Regions from separate parts of the Homo sapiens genome. Here all the other regions are linked to region 1. The links are contacts of gene promoters, found by promoter capture Hi-C in blood cells and fetal thymus (Javierre and others, 2016). All regions are on one chromosome and are shown on one strand. Each heading gives the region's core, a stretch centred on a gene start or on the middle of the fragment in contact. The rest is flanking DNA. Distances are from core to core; before and after follow the strand shown. Region 1 holds the start of TRDMT1 (tRNA aspartic acid methyltransferase 1). Region 2 overlaps ST8SIA6 (ST8 alpha-N-acetyl-neuraminide alpha-2,8-sialyltransferase 6). Region 3 overlaps CUBN (cubilin). Region 4 overlaps CUBN (cubilin).

Region 1 (3,012 bases), core at 135-2,634:
AGTTTCAAGATATGGGAAAACGCGGACATTATATCACTTTAGAGAATTAACAAAGAGTAAATAGTACTAGAGTTTTGCTTTGATGCTGCTAAGTTTTAAAATGAGAAATAAAGATAGCCGGCAAACAAGTACTAAAAACTTAATGATCATTAACCTAGTCTAGAATTGAAACTCAATAAATCTGCTCAAAAAACTTATACGCTAAACCCATTAAATATTGTCTGTATCTTACAGTTACTCTTGTTACTCTTGGTCCTAAATAAGGAAGCAGGGAAGTTTCAGTTCGGTGGTTGTCTTAGTAATTTAAGAATAAACATGCACCTTCAAAGCCTGTTTGTCATTCTGTATCCCCAGCTCCTAGCACAAAATCTGGCACAGAATAGGAGCTCAATAAATAATTTTGAGTGAATATCACCAAAAGTAAAACTTTCAGTTCCAACTCAGCATGAAAGAAATCAAAAACCTCAAAATCAAAGACGTGCATAAAAGTAATAGTTTGCTTGATAATATCTCGTGATGTCGTTTTAAAGTAATAGTGATAATAATGTATAATATTTGGAGTGGTTACAATGTATCAGGCACTAACAAGCACTTGACAGACTTTAATCCTTATAATAATCATTCTCTTTTAAAACCAGGAAACAGGTTCATCACTGTTCACGAAGTAGCCCAACGTCACACTGCCACCAAGCTGGAACTCAGTTCTCTGGCATCTAAACGCAGAACTACAGAAGACACGTTTCTTTCCAACGATCAGACGTCCAAGTTCTTCAAGCTTCCTCTACCATCCTATTTAGCATTCGCAAACTTCTACCTTGAATTGTAGCTATTATCCCTTCCAAGATCCATCTCTCACCAGGGGAGCCCCTGACACTCCCTCCCTCCCCAGCTGGGAAGCCCCCCAGGATGAAGGACCGAGTCTCCATGCTTCTCGGTGGCTGCACACTTAGAATGGGGGCTTGGCACCAGGCGAGGGTCTCGCCCCTTTGATACCCTTTGAGGTTGATTTACTGCCTTGCGAATCCCGACTCCCAACTGGGCCCTTTGAGGCGCCATGTGCGGCCCCTCGAGCCAGACTCGGCGCCAGGAGAAGGGAGTCAGCGTCTGGAGGGGTGGACACGGCGGCGCGCAGGAGCTGTTTCCAGGACAACCGAGGGCCGCCCCACAGTGTCCGCCCCACAGTGTCCGCCCCTTGCGTCTCGCCGCTCCGCCCCTTCCCGGCGCGGGTGCTCCAACCAGCCCCCGTGAGCGAATAGAGAGAGGGGTGCTAGATGGACTCTCACCTCTCAGCGCGTGGTGCATGCCGCCCACGCCGCTGTATAGCTCCAGCACCCGCAGGGGCTCCATCCCCGCGCCTCAGCCGCCGCAGCCCCGGAGCTAGGCCTGCCGGTCCGTCGCTCCTCCTCCCTCCATCGCGCCGCTCCCTCAGCCTCTGGTTCCGCGGCGTTTCAGTTCCCCCGTCTCCTACCGCTCCAGGCTCAGGGCTTCAGAGGGCCTCGCGGCCTGGGGATTGGCAAGGGTCTAGAGGGGAACAAAGGACGGAAAACAATAAGGCTTCCCGAATGAATGGCAGCCACTCTGTAGCCTGATTTACGCTCCATTTCCTTCTTTGGTGTCAGGGGCCTTGATTGGAAAAGAAATCCAGAGTTCAGTAAAGGGGAGAAAACTGCCTTGGTTTCCAAGTGAATTAACACTGGTTAGAAGCCAGAAAAAAATCATTTTTCAGACAAGCTGCTTTTCTGTCACTTAGAAGCCTGAACATTCAAACATTCTTTCCACAGTGTGCCTTGTTTCCTGCCTGCCCTGGGTCAATAGAGAGAAATTAGACCAGCCTCTCCCCTAGAGAAGATTCCAGAATTATAAGTAAGGACACAAGTCCACTCGCAGCAGAGAAAGCCCTGTGTGCGTGCTGATAATACAGAGGATGTTTGTTGTGTCTATTAGTGGGGTTAATTATGTTTTAGCTTGGAAATTACACCTACATAGAATACACAGTGAATATCATGTAGGATTATTTATGGGTCTTTAAGTGCTATGGCCTTGATTCCTCAGGATGATCCAGTAACCAACTGTTAGAGGCTCATGTTGACGAAAAAAGCCAAACTCCGTAAAATGTTTGAAGAGGTTTATTCTGAGCACAAGGTGAGGACCGTGACCCATGACACAACCCCACAGGGTCCTGACAACATGTACCCAAGGTGGTTGGGCTACAGCTTGGGATTATATGGTTTTAGGGAGACATAAGGACATTAACTGGTATATGGAAGGTGTACTTAGTTTGGTCCATAAAGATGGGACAACTCAAAAAGGGGAAGGATTCCAGGTTACAGGTGGATTCAAAGATTTTCTGATTGGCAGTTGGTTGAAAGAGTTAAGTTGTGACCTAAAGACCTGGAATCAATAGAAAGGAATGTGTCTGGGTTAAGATAAGGTGGAGACCAAGGTTCTTATTATGTAGACGAAGTCTCATACGTAACAGGCTTCAGAGAGAATAATTGGCAAATGTCTCTTATCATGTGTAAAAAGATGCCAGACTCTTAGTTAAATATCTCTTGGATCAGGAAAAGACCTGGAAAGGGAAAGGGAGTCTCTATAGAATGTAGATTTTCCCCACAAGAGATGGCTGTGTAGGGCCATTTCAAAAAGTGTCAAAGAAATTTATTTTAGGGTAAAATGCTTTGATTTAGGGCCTGCTATCTTTCATGTGATGCTATACTAGAGTCATGTTGGAATTTTGGTATCTTATTGCTAAGAAGAGTCTGTTATGTCGGTATGAAGATCTCTTGTTTTAATAATAATACTGGTCAGTTGTGCCTGAACTCCAAAGAGAGGAAAGTATAATGAGGCATGTCTGACTTCCCTTTCCCAGCATGGCCTGAACTAGTTTTTCAAGTTTCTTTGGAATCCGCTTGGTGGAGGTGTTCAATCAGTCAGTTGGGGGGAGCTTAGAAATTTTGTGGGGGGAGCGGTGTTTACAGTCAATTATAAATAAAAATAATGTACCCATATGGA
Region 2 (3,012 bases), core at 316-2,815, 240 kb after region 1:
CAAGAGAATATTGCACAGACCTTGTTAGAATAACTCTTACCTTTTGAGCCTCTTCACATAATTCAGTCACATTTTCAGAGTTAACAATTCTTTTTCAATCCAGTGTGTTGGTCACTGACTCAGACTGCTTTACCCAAAATGTGCTTCACAGCCTCCATAAGATGACATATTATGGCAAATAAAAAACACAAACCACCTTCCAAACTACAGCTTTTTACAGTTTTACAGTTTCTACTTAATTTCAAGTTGAAAATGCTATCTTCTTCATTTAAAATGATAATTTCATTTCTTCCTCTTCCAGCTTTTCAGATTCATATCTCAAGTGTTTAGGTATTCAGCTTTTTACACATCTCACTACATGTGATTTACAGGTCATGCATTATTACTTTCTGTGCTTCTTCCCTCTCTTTTTTTTTTTTTTTTTTTGGAGTTGGGGATGGAGCCTCTCTCTGTCACCCAGACTGGAGTGCAGTGGTGCAATCTTGGCTCACTGCAACCTCCGCCTTCCATGTTCAAGTGATTCTTGTGCCTCAGCCTCCCAAGTAGCTGGAATTAGAGGCACCCACCATCACATCCTGCTAATTTTTGTATTTGTAGTAGAGGCAGGGTTTTGCCATGCTGGCCAGGCTGGTCTAAAACTCCTGACCTCAGGTGATCCACCCGCCTCGGCCTCAGCAAAGTGCTGGGATTACAGGCGTGAGCCACCATGTCCAGCATATGTTTAACTTTTTAAGAAACTGCCAAACTCTTTTCCAAAGTAGCTGCACTTGGACCTCCATGAATGTCTGATTTGGTGCCAGCAATCTCTAAGCTTCATCTCCCCACCGTGTCTGTCGCCTCCTGCACAATCCTAACAAGGCTCACTTTACCCCCACTTCCCACGTGTCAATTTAGAGACTCCCAGGCCAACGGCATGTGAAGAAGAGGAATCACTACAAGGCATGCTGAGGCTATCTCCCAGGAGGAAATGGCTCATTAGAAATCATTAGAGCAATAAAATATCTATGCAGCTGTTCCTACAAAGTTCATGAACACAAATGGAGGTATTTTCAATTGTACAACAAAGATTCAACACTCCCTAGAACTATGTGGATCTTCCAACGAGGAAAGGAAGATCTTAAATAAACTCCCAGTGCCAACAATCTTAAATCAGATGCCAGCTCTGGCTTCACTCCATTACAGCAATTTGAATGGGGTATAACTATGGGATTCAGGATGACAGTGCCTACGGCTTTCATAATCATAAGCAATAGGAAATTACTCCACAACTCCTGGAGGCAAAGGGATACTGATTTTTAGTCAGTTTTGTAATAGTTTCTCAACTCAATAGTTTCTCAAATGTATTTTTTTTTTTTTTTTTGAGACAGAGTCTCACTCTGTCACTCAGGCTGGAGTGCAGTGGCATGATCTCAGCTCACTGCAACTCCGCCTCCCGGGCTCAAGCAATTCTCCTGCCTCAGCCTCCCAAGTAGCTGGGATTACAGGCGCCCGCCACCATACCCTGCTAATTTTTGTATTTTTAGTAGAGACGAGGTTTCACTATGTTGGCCAGGATGGTCTCGAACTCCTGACCTCAAGTGATTCACCTGCCCCGGCCTCCCAAAGTGCTGGGATTACAGGTGTGAGCCACCGCACCCAGCCTCAAATGTAATTTGTAATAGTTTCTCAAATGTTAAACTTTGCCTCAAGGTCTTAGGGCTATCCATACATTCATAAGGAGTAGACAAAACTCCTGTGCACTACACCGGCTATGCACTCTCCGTGTTCTAAAACTTCTTATCCTCCTCTAACCCTACCCCAGGACTTCCTGCCTATGTGAGTAATAAACCTTTCTGTGATCCCGCTAAAGAACCACTGTCAGGAGCTTCGGCAGTAGAAGCTAACCTTGGGAGGAAGCCTTCTCCATGTCACGGTGGCATTGCTACAAAAGTCATTATAAAAGACATGGAGTTGTATCTTATTGGGGTTTTGGTTTGCATTTCCCTAATGATTAATGATGTAGAACATTTTGTCACATGCTTATTAGCCATCTGTCTATCTTCTTTGCTGAAGATAGGTCTTCACATCTGCCCATTTTTAAACTGGGGTTGTCTTCTTGTTAATTGAGTTGCAAGAGTTCATTACATATTCTGGATACAAGTCTTTTATTGGATGTATGATATACAAATATCTTCTCTCAGTGGATGGCTTATGTTTTTATATTCTTAATGGTGTCTGTTGAAGCACAAACTTTTTTTTAATTTAGGAAAAATATAATTTGTCAAATTTTTCTTTTATTGATTATGCTTTTGGTGCCACATCTAAGAATGCTACCTGATCCAAGCTTCTAAAATTTTTCTTGTATGTTTTCTTTTGGACATTTTCTGTCTGTAGCTTTTGTCTGTGATCCATGTGGAAACCATTCTTCTGTGTATAGTGTAAGGTAAGCATCTAAATTATCTTTATTTATTTATTTATTTATTTATTTGAGACGGAGTCTCGCTCGTTTCCCAGGCTGGAGTGCAATGGCGCGAGCTCAGCTGACTGCAACCTCCACCTCCCAGGTACAAGCGATTCTCCTGTCTCAGCCTCCCAAGTAGCTCGGATGACAGGCATGCACCACCATGCCTGGCTAATTGTTTTGTATTTAGTAGAGACAGGGTTTCACCATGTTAGGCTGCTCGCGAACTCCTGACCTCCAGTGATCCACCTGCCACAGCCTCCCAAAGTGCTGGGATTACAGGCGTGCACCACTGCACCCGGCCCCTGGATCTAAACTTATCTTTTTGCTTATAGAGATCCCATTGTGCCAGCACCATTTGTTGAAAACTATCCTCGCTCCACCATCTGGAAGTCCCACCCTCTAAATTTGTTAATTAATTTAATTAAGTTTCATTTGAAAGAATCTGTCAAACTCAATAAAATTACATTTATTAAAAAGACTTATCTGAAAGTTCCACATTTGAAATTGGCCCTAAACACAAGCTCTAATTTTTATTGTTTTTATAGTAAAGACGATATAAAACAATTTTT
Region 3 (3,012 bases), core at 185-2,684, 230 kb before region 1:
GCCTTTGTTTCCATGACACCAAGAGTAATGGCTGTTACATGTGGGCTTAGCTTGCCTCAATTTGGAACCTATAGGGACTAGGCCTACTCTAAGAAGAGCTTTCTATTGTATTCCCAGAAGAGTATGGGGATAGTCTTGTAACCCAGAGATCATGTGAAGCCTGGTGGCTGCCTGAGGTTGACTTCAACTTTGAGGATGAAACCACCACTGACGTCACTGGGCCCTCAGTGGCCATTTCATCTGCCATCTTGTCCTCCTTTTCTTACCCACAAATGCAACTCCTAACTGAATCCTCTTCCTTAGTTTTCTTCTTTCTGCTTCTGTTCCCCAGGCACCTGATTTTCTAAATAAGCAAACTAAGAACCCCAAGCCATGAAGAGGGTGAGGGGTGGTACACGTCCAGAAACAAGCACCTGGCAGTGTCTGGTACATATTTGGCACCGAAGGGGAAAGTAATGAAGGAAACCCTGACCTCCTGACTTCAAAGCAAGGACACTTTCCATTTCATATTTGAATTCTTAACACTTTTCCTTCTATTGACAAATGAAGGCTGGGCTTATCAGATATAGAAGTGAAAGTGGGCTGGGCACGGTGGCTCACGCCTATAATCCCAGCATTCACACCTGTAATCAGAGGCCGAGGCGGGTGGATCACCTGAGGTCAGAAGTTCAAAACCAGCCTGGCCAACATGGTGAAACCCCATCTCCACTAAAAACACAAAATATTAGCCGGGCATGGTGGCACATGCCTGTAATCCCAGCTACTTGGGAGGCTGAGGCAGGAGAATTGCTTGAACCTGGGAGGTGGAGGTCGCAGTGAGCTGAGATCACACCTTTGCACTCCAGCCTGGGCAACAAGAGTGAAACTCCATCTCAAAAAAAAAAAAAAAATCAAAGTGGCTCCAGCCTGACCCTAAATTTATTTTCTCCCTCTATTTTTCTAGTCTGCCATTCCGTATCCTGTACATAACTGCAATTTTTATATTTTACCAAAATACTTATTCACTTCGTAGGAAGCATAAGGCTTTCGTTTTAGTGCTGATCCTGCTGTTAATTTCTACTTAGCCTTGACCCTGACATTTCTGGATCTCAGTATCTTTTTTATTTTTTAATTAATTTTTATTTTTTGCACTGCCCCACCTCCACCTCAATGTCTTTTTTTAAAAAATTAGGTGACAACAGCAAACGAACTCTAAGCTTTCTTCTTCCAACCTTAACATTCTATGTATCTATAGGTTTATGACAGTTAATCATATGTGAAATCATATTTAACATACAGCTAAATTACTATTTCTTCTTCTAACAACCCAAATTGTTATAGAAGTTTTGAAAAAACAGGATGGCTGGTCCCATTCCAGCATAATTTTCACTGGTATTTAAAGAGTACACTTGAACTCTGTTAAAAATCTCCTGAACCCCAACATTATCTGACAGCATCACTGGCAACTGAATATTTTTCTCTTTGCTAATAACTCTGTCTAAGCAACAGGACCAGGACATTAACTTGAATGTCTCCAAAATGAAGGATTGGCTTTATATGAACTGAGACTGCAGAGATATTATGTAAGATGTTGGACTTTGGGGTACGTTTCCCGTCCAGTGTCCATCTGGCTGTAAAGATAGAGGGCTGGTGCTTCAACTCCGGCCTTCATGAATCCCTGGACAACTAACTAACAAGCTTCCAGCCTTGCCAGGGCATTGCCTGGTCTGGTTCCAAACCTCTGCAGACCTCCTGTCCCCTTAAGTGGGCACATTTGGCAAATATATAGCAGATCTCTACCCCAACTTACCTGGACAGTCTTGTTTTCTTTTAAAACTTCCTTATCTTTTTGTAAAGTTGATTTATAAATCATCCAAGAAAAAATGACTTAGTTTGTATACAATTTATGCAATTTTTAACATAATGAATTTATAAATCAGAAAAATCTTGTGCCAAGCCATGGGTTTCAATTTCTTATTCTAAAAAGTACAACATTCATAGAACCAATCTGGCGCTTCTTGGTGTCTCTGTCCTGAAAACATGATTTTCTCTACTGTTCGCCTGGCTCTCACATTCAGCTGCTCTTTTTCCACCTGCCCTCTTCACACAACTTATATTTCTCCATTTTTTTTAAAAAACCAACTCTCCACTGATTTTGGTTAACCCATTGGTTACTGCCCATTTTCTCCTTATGCCACTCATTTCCGTAACTCTGGGGAAAAGCTCAGAAGCTCCTGCACCTCCTAACCACTGTGACCTTGAGTCTTCCACCACCACCCGCCACAATCCTGCTCCTTGCAGGTTATTAAAGACGGAATCCAGGGGCTTTGTTGCAATCCTCACGCTCGTTGGCATCCTGCATGGGATTTGATACCTTTGATCACCCACCCTTGAAATTCAGCTTCCCTCGTGGTTTGAATGCTACCACTCTCTTCTGGTTCTCCACCAAGCACTCAGCGCACCTCCTCAGCCTCCTCTCCTCTGATCTTTCATCCACCCGTTACATGGCAGTGTTTCCCCAGGAGTTGGCTTGGCCCCTTTCTCTTGGTAAAATACTCCTAAAAGTGATCATACCTACTCCCACAACTTTAATAACCACCCAATATACAGAAATTATCCTCAATTGTATATGTCTAGCTCAGATCCTATCCCAAGCTCTGAACTCTTATGTCAAACTATATAATATTTAAACCCAAAAGTTTACAAGTCAAACTCACTATCATCTACTCCCTTTACTCAGTTAATGGCCTCATCATTCACAATTTTTTTTTTTTTTGAAACAGGGTCATGCTGTCACCCAGGCTGGAGTACAGTGGTGTGATCACAGCTCACCGCAGCCTCGACCTCCCATGCTCAAGCCATCCTCCCACCTCAACCTCCTGAGTTACTGGGAATACAGGTATGTGCCACTTGGCCAGGCTAATTTTTTAATTTTTTTGCAGAGATGGGGTCCAGGCTGGTGTCAAACTCCTGAGCTCAAACAATTCTCCTGTCTCGGCCTCCCAAAGTGCTGGAATTACAGGTATGAGCCAT
Region 4 (3,012 bases), core at 289-2,788, 160 kb before region 1:
TCTCATCAAGGCGGGATAGTGTCTGACCAGCACGTAATTAAGTCTTTTTGTAGTTTCCATTTTATTAATTCAGAATAACTAAATTCTGGCTCTAGTAACAGGCATCCAGTTGGGATTTGGGGAAGTCAGCTGAAAAAACCCAGAAGCGATTAAAATAATGGAAGCTAGATTTCTGTGTGTGTGAGTTTTCTCTCTGTAAATGGTTGTTTGTGTGTTAAAATTTCCATCATAGACCAGCTATTGCAGCTATTGCTCTGGTCTGGCCTCTTGGCTCACAGAGATGGAAAACAATCTCCTCCCTCTGGCAACAGCGCCGTTTTTTTGGAAGGCCTTTCTGAACTTCTGGTTCTCATTTTGTATTTTTGCTCTTTCACCGTCAATGTTGCACAAGAGAAATGGCATGACCATAACATGACAGACACGTCATCCATAAGGGGCTCTAATGAGCTACTCTGCAGTTGCTGGAACAAGCATTTTTTAATTTGAGTTTTTAAACACCTTTTTGTTGCCATTTCATCCTCAAATGAGTCGAAAGAAATGGAGTTCAGGTCCTGGAAATGTTTCATCTCTTTCCTCCCCCCTCTTTCTGCCAAAGCCTCCTTTAAAGCCCAATTCAAAAGCATCCTCCTTTCTGTGGCTTTCTCCATTACGCTTTACCAAATCACGATTATGGTGCCCAGCACACTGTTATACGTGCAACGCTCGGCAAGATCATGAGTCCTATTTTGGTTTGTGCTCCAATTTGTAGGATTGCACTGCGTGTGTAGGAGGTCGTACAAAAACGCCAGTTTGGAATTCAATCTTTCTCATTCATTAGTAGTTATCATTAGACTGATACTAAAATATGGCTGTGATATTCAATTCAACTTGAACTTACTGAACTCCTGTAATGTCCCACCTGTATAATAAGTGCCTGGGTTACAAAGTTAGTAGGAGACAGCACAGACCTTCGAGAAGCCCACAGTCCAGTGGGAATCAGAATAGTCCTAACTGGTAAAAGGAGGTATGACCAACTGCTGTGTTCACGGTATAAACAAAGGGCTTTGAAAGCAACTTTTCTGCTTTTTCTAAAACACAAACAAGGTCTCACCATGTGAAGAAATGGATGCCTATTCTAGTAGTATCTTAATGATACCATCCTGGTATCATTAAGCTTGTGAAGACCAGTTGAACTCCAGGTCAAGGAAGGTGGACTTTAAAACCATTGCCAAGTACGTGCTTGTAAGTTTGTTTCATGTTGTGTCATATTTTCTTAGAATACTGGTAAACAAAACTTTCTAATGGGTAAACACTATGGCTAATATTTCTGTAATATTGTACTTTTGTAAATATAAGGCAAAATTTTTTCCCAAAAAATTATCTCTGAAAAACAAGGGAATCTCCTTATAGTTAGGACCTCACAGAGTCTCTCAAAGTGCAGAATGCTTTGTTGTCACTCTTTGTTTTCATAAACAAAAGTGCTATTTGGAAAATATATGTTAACCTCAACCAACCTCAACCAATGCTAGTTTTCCTATACAACTTGTAAAAACACAATTAAGAACATTTTACAAGAATAACATATTTTTTCCTGGGAATATGACCCCAGAGTTGCCAGCAATGGATGTTGAAGTCTTTGTAAGTAAGACTTCTAAAAATCACTGACCACCTTAAAAACAACTACCTTAAGTCACTAGGCTGCAGGTAGGAGGGCAGGTGGGAAAAAAAATGTCCTGTTATCAGAGCAAGTACTTATCACTTCAGAAAGGGTATCTAGTGAAAACATTATATGTGGATTTTTTGAAGTATTATATATTAACAATATAGACAGAAATAAAGATAATGCCTTAGATGACTCAAAAAGTTATTTTACTGATGATGAAACGTAGATGCCAAAATAACCTCCCAATTTGTAGCCCTAAAAGTTACATATGCAAGTTATCAAAAAGCTTTTTAAGTTAAAATTTCTTATTGCAAAAATAACATATTACCTTATATTCAAGGTTGCCTAATATTTAAGCAAGATTTATTGCCTGAAATTGCATACAGACAGTTGAATAAATGTTACTAGTGGTCATGATTATAACAATTGAAACTTCAATTTTACAAAAATAAAAATATACTGAAATGAACTTACATTTAAAAATAAAAACAACAATTAAAACCATGATACCTCATACTAGAAAAATGACATCTTAAATAAATCCAAGATACCCAAACATTTTCTGATCTCTTATACACAGAGAACAAACATAAAAACAACCAACAAAAAATAGAGGTTATTACTCTCCTTCCATGTAAGTTAAGTAATATGAGGTCAATGAGTCCAGAAGTTACACTGAAACCTAAAAACATAGATAGTTCTCTGTATTCACAATTTAATACATTAAATATGAAATATACCTGTTCAAATACCATGGGTGGTTGGTGTGTTATAGATGCGTGGGGCAGAGTTAGGGATTTTATTCTAAAAAGCATGATGGATTCTAACTTGACACATCTCCCTTGATCTGAAAAAGCAGTGATCAATCAAGCTTTATAATACATACCTCTAAATAATCTGTGGAGCAGTTTATGTGATGTTCCAAGTCAAATGCTAAAAATGTGTAGTTCACAGTGTTGCCTGTTGTTGCCCGGATGGTCCAGTTGCAATGCTGATTTTCAGAATAAGGATTCGGATACCCTATACTCTCTAAGATGCCATAGGTTTGATTGACTATTACCACATTCTCACATGCTGGAAAAAGAAATGACTGTTAAGAACCACTATTATATACTTCATAAGTGCTCCAAGATGAGATTTTCCTTTAAAAAAAATAAATAAAAATCATCTGTGTATGTACACACACACATATATGATGTGTATATATGTGTGTGTATATATACACACACAGAGACACACACACATATATATTTGGTGCAGTATTTTCATAGTGAAAGGATTTCCATTTAGAAGAAATGTGAAATAATACTGAAGTGAATTCAAACTAAAGAGTCATGAAAATTAAATAGTCATGTTAAAATAGGCATCAA

Evidence for each region. The method cuts DNA at HindIII sites, captures the fragments that hold promoters and counts their contacts. A CHiCAGO score of 5 or more calls a contact.
Region 2: a contact is called between a fragment that was not itself captured here and the fragment with the promoter of TRDMT1 in region 1, in 1 of 17 cell types (naive CD8 T cells). The highest score is 5.4, in naive CD8 T cells.
Region 3: a contact is called between a fragment that was not itself captured here and the fragment with the promoter of TRDMT1 in region 1, in 10 of 17 cell types (activated CD4 T cells, M1 macrophages, M0 macrophages and 7 more). The highest score is 16.0, in activated CD4 T cells.
Region 4: a fragment that was not itself captured here is called in contact with the fragment with the promoter of TRDMT1 in region 1 in 13 of 17 cell types (M0 macrophages, M1 macrophages, M2 macrophages and 10 more); the score reaches 17.2 in M0 macrophages.

The regions. Positions count from the first base shown.
Region 1 is chr10:17,200,288-17,203,299 of GRCh38, forward strand. It overlaps TRDMT1 (tRNA aspartic acid methyltransferase 1), which reads right to left and starts at 1,385. Exons shown (of 11, transcript NM_004412.7): 1 at 1,284-1,385. The coding sequence starts at 1,347. RefSeq lists a silencer at 1,023-1,082. The HindIII fragment of the contact is 5,194 bases long and covers 774-3,012 here.
Region 2 is chr10:17,438,865-17,441,876 of GRCh38, forward strand. The region is part of intron 2 of ST8SIA6 (ST8 alpha-N-acetyl-neuraminide alpha-2,8-sialyltransferase 6); the gene reads right to left. It overlaps LOC105376436 (a long non-coding RNA gene), which reads left to right. Exons shown (of 4, transcript XR_007062074.1): 2 at 2,374-2,422. Among named protein-coding and RNA genes, the nearest start is that of ST8SIA6, 14 kb to the right of the region's middle. The HindIII fragment of the contact is 1,512 bases long and covers 810-2,321 here.
Region 3 is chr10:16,969,703-16,972,714 of GRCh38, forward strand. All of the region lies in intron 31 of CUBN (cubilin), which reads right to left. Among named protein-coding and RNA genes, the nearest start is that of RSU1, 150 kb to the left of the region's middle. The HindIII fragment of the contact is 481 bases long and covers 1,195-1,675 here.
Region 4 is chr10:17,038,505-17,041,516 of GRCh38, forward strand. It overlaps CUBN (cubilin), which reads right to left. Exons shown (of 67, transcript NM_001081.4): 27 at 2,529-2,716. Among named protein-coding and RNA genes, the nearest start is that of CUBN, 90 kb to the right of the region's middle. The HindIII fragment of the contact is 775 bases long and covers 1,152-1,926 here.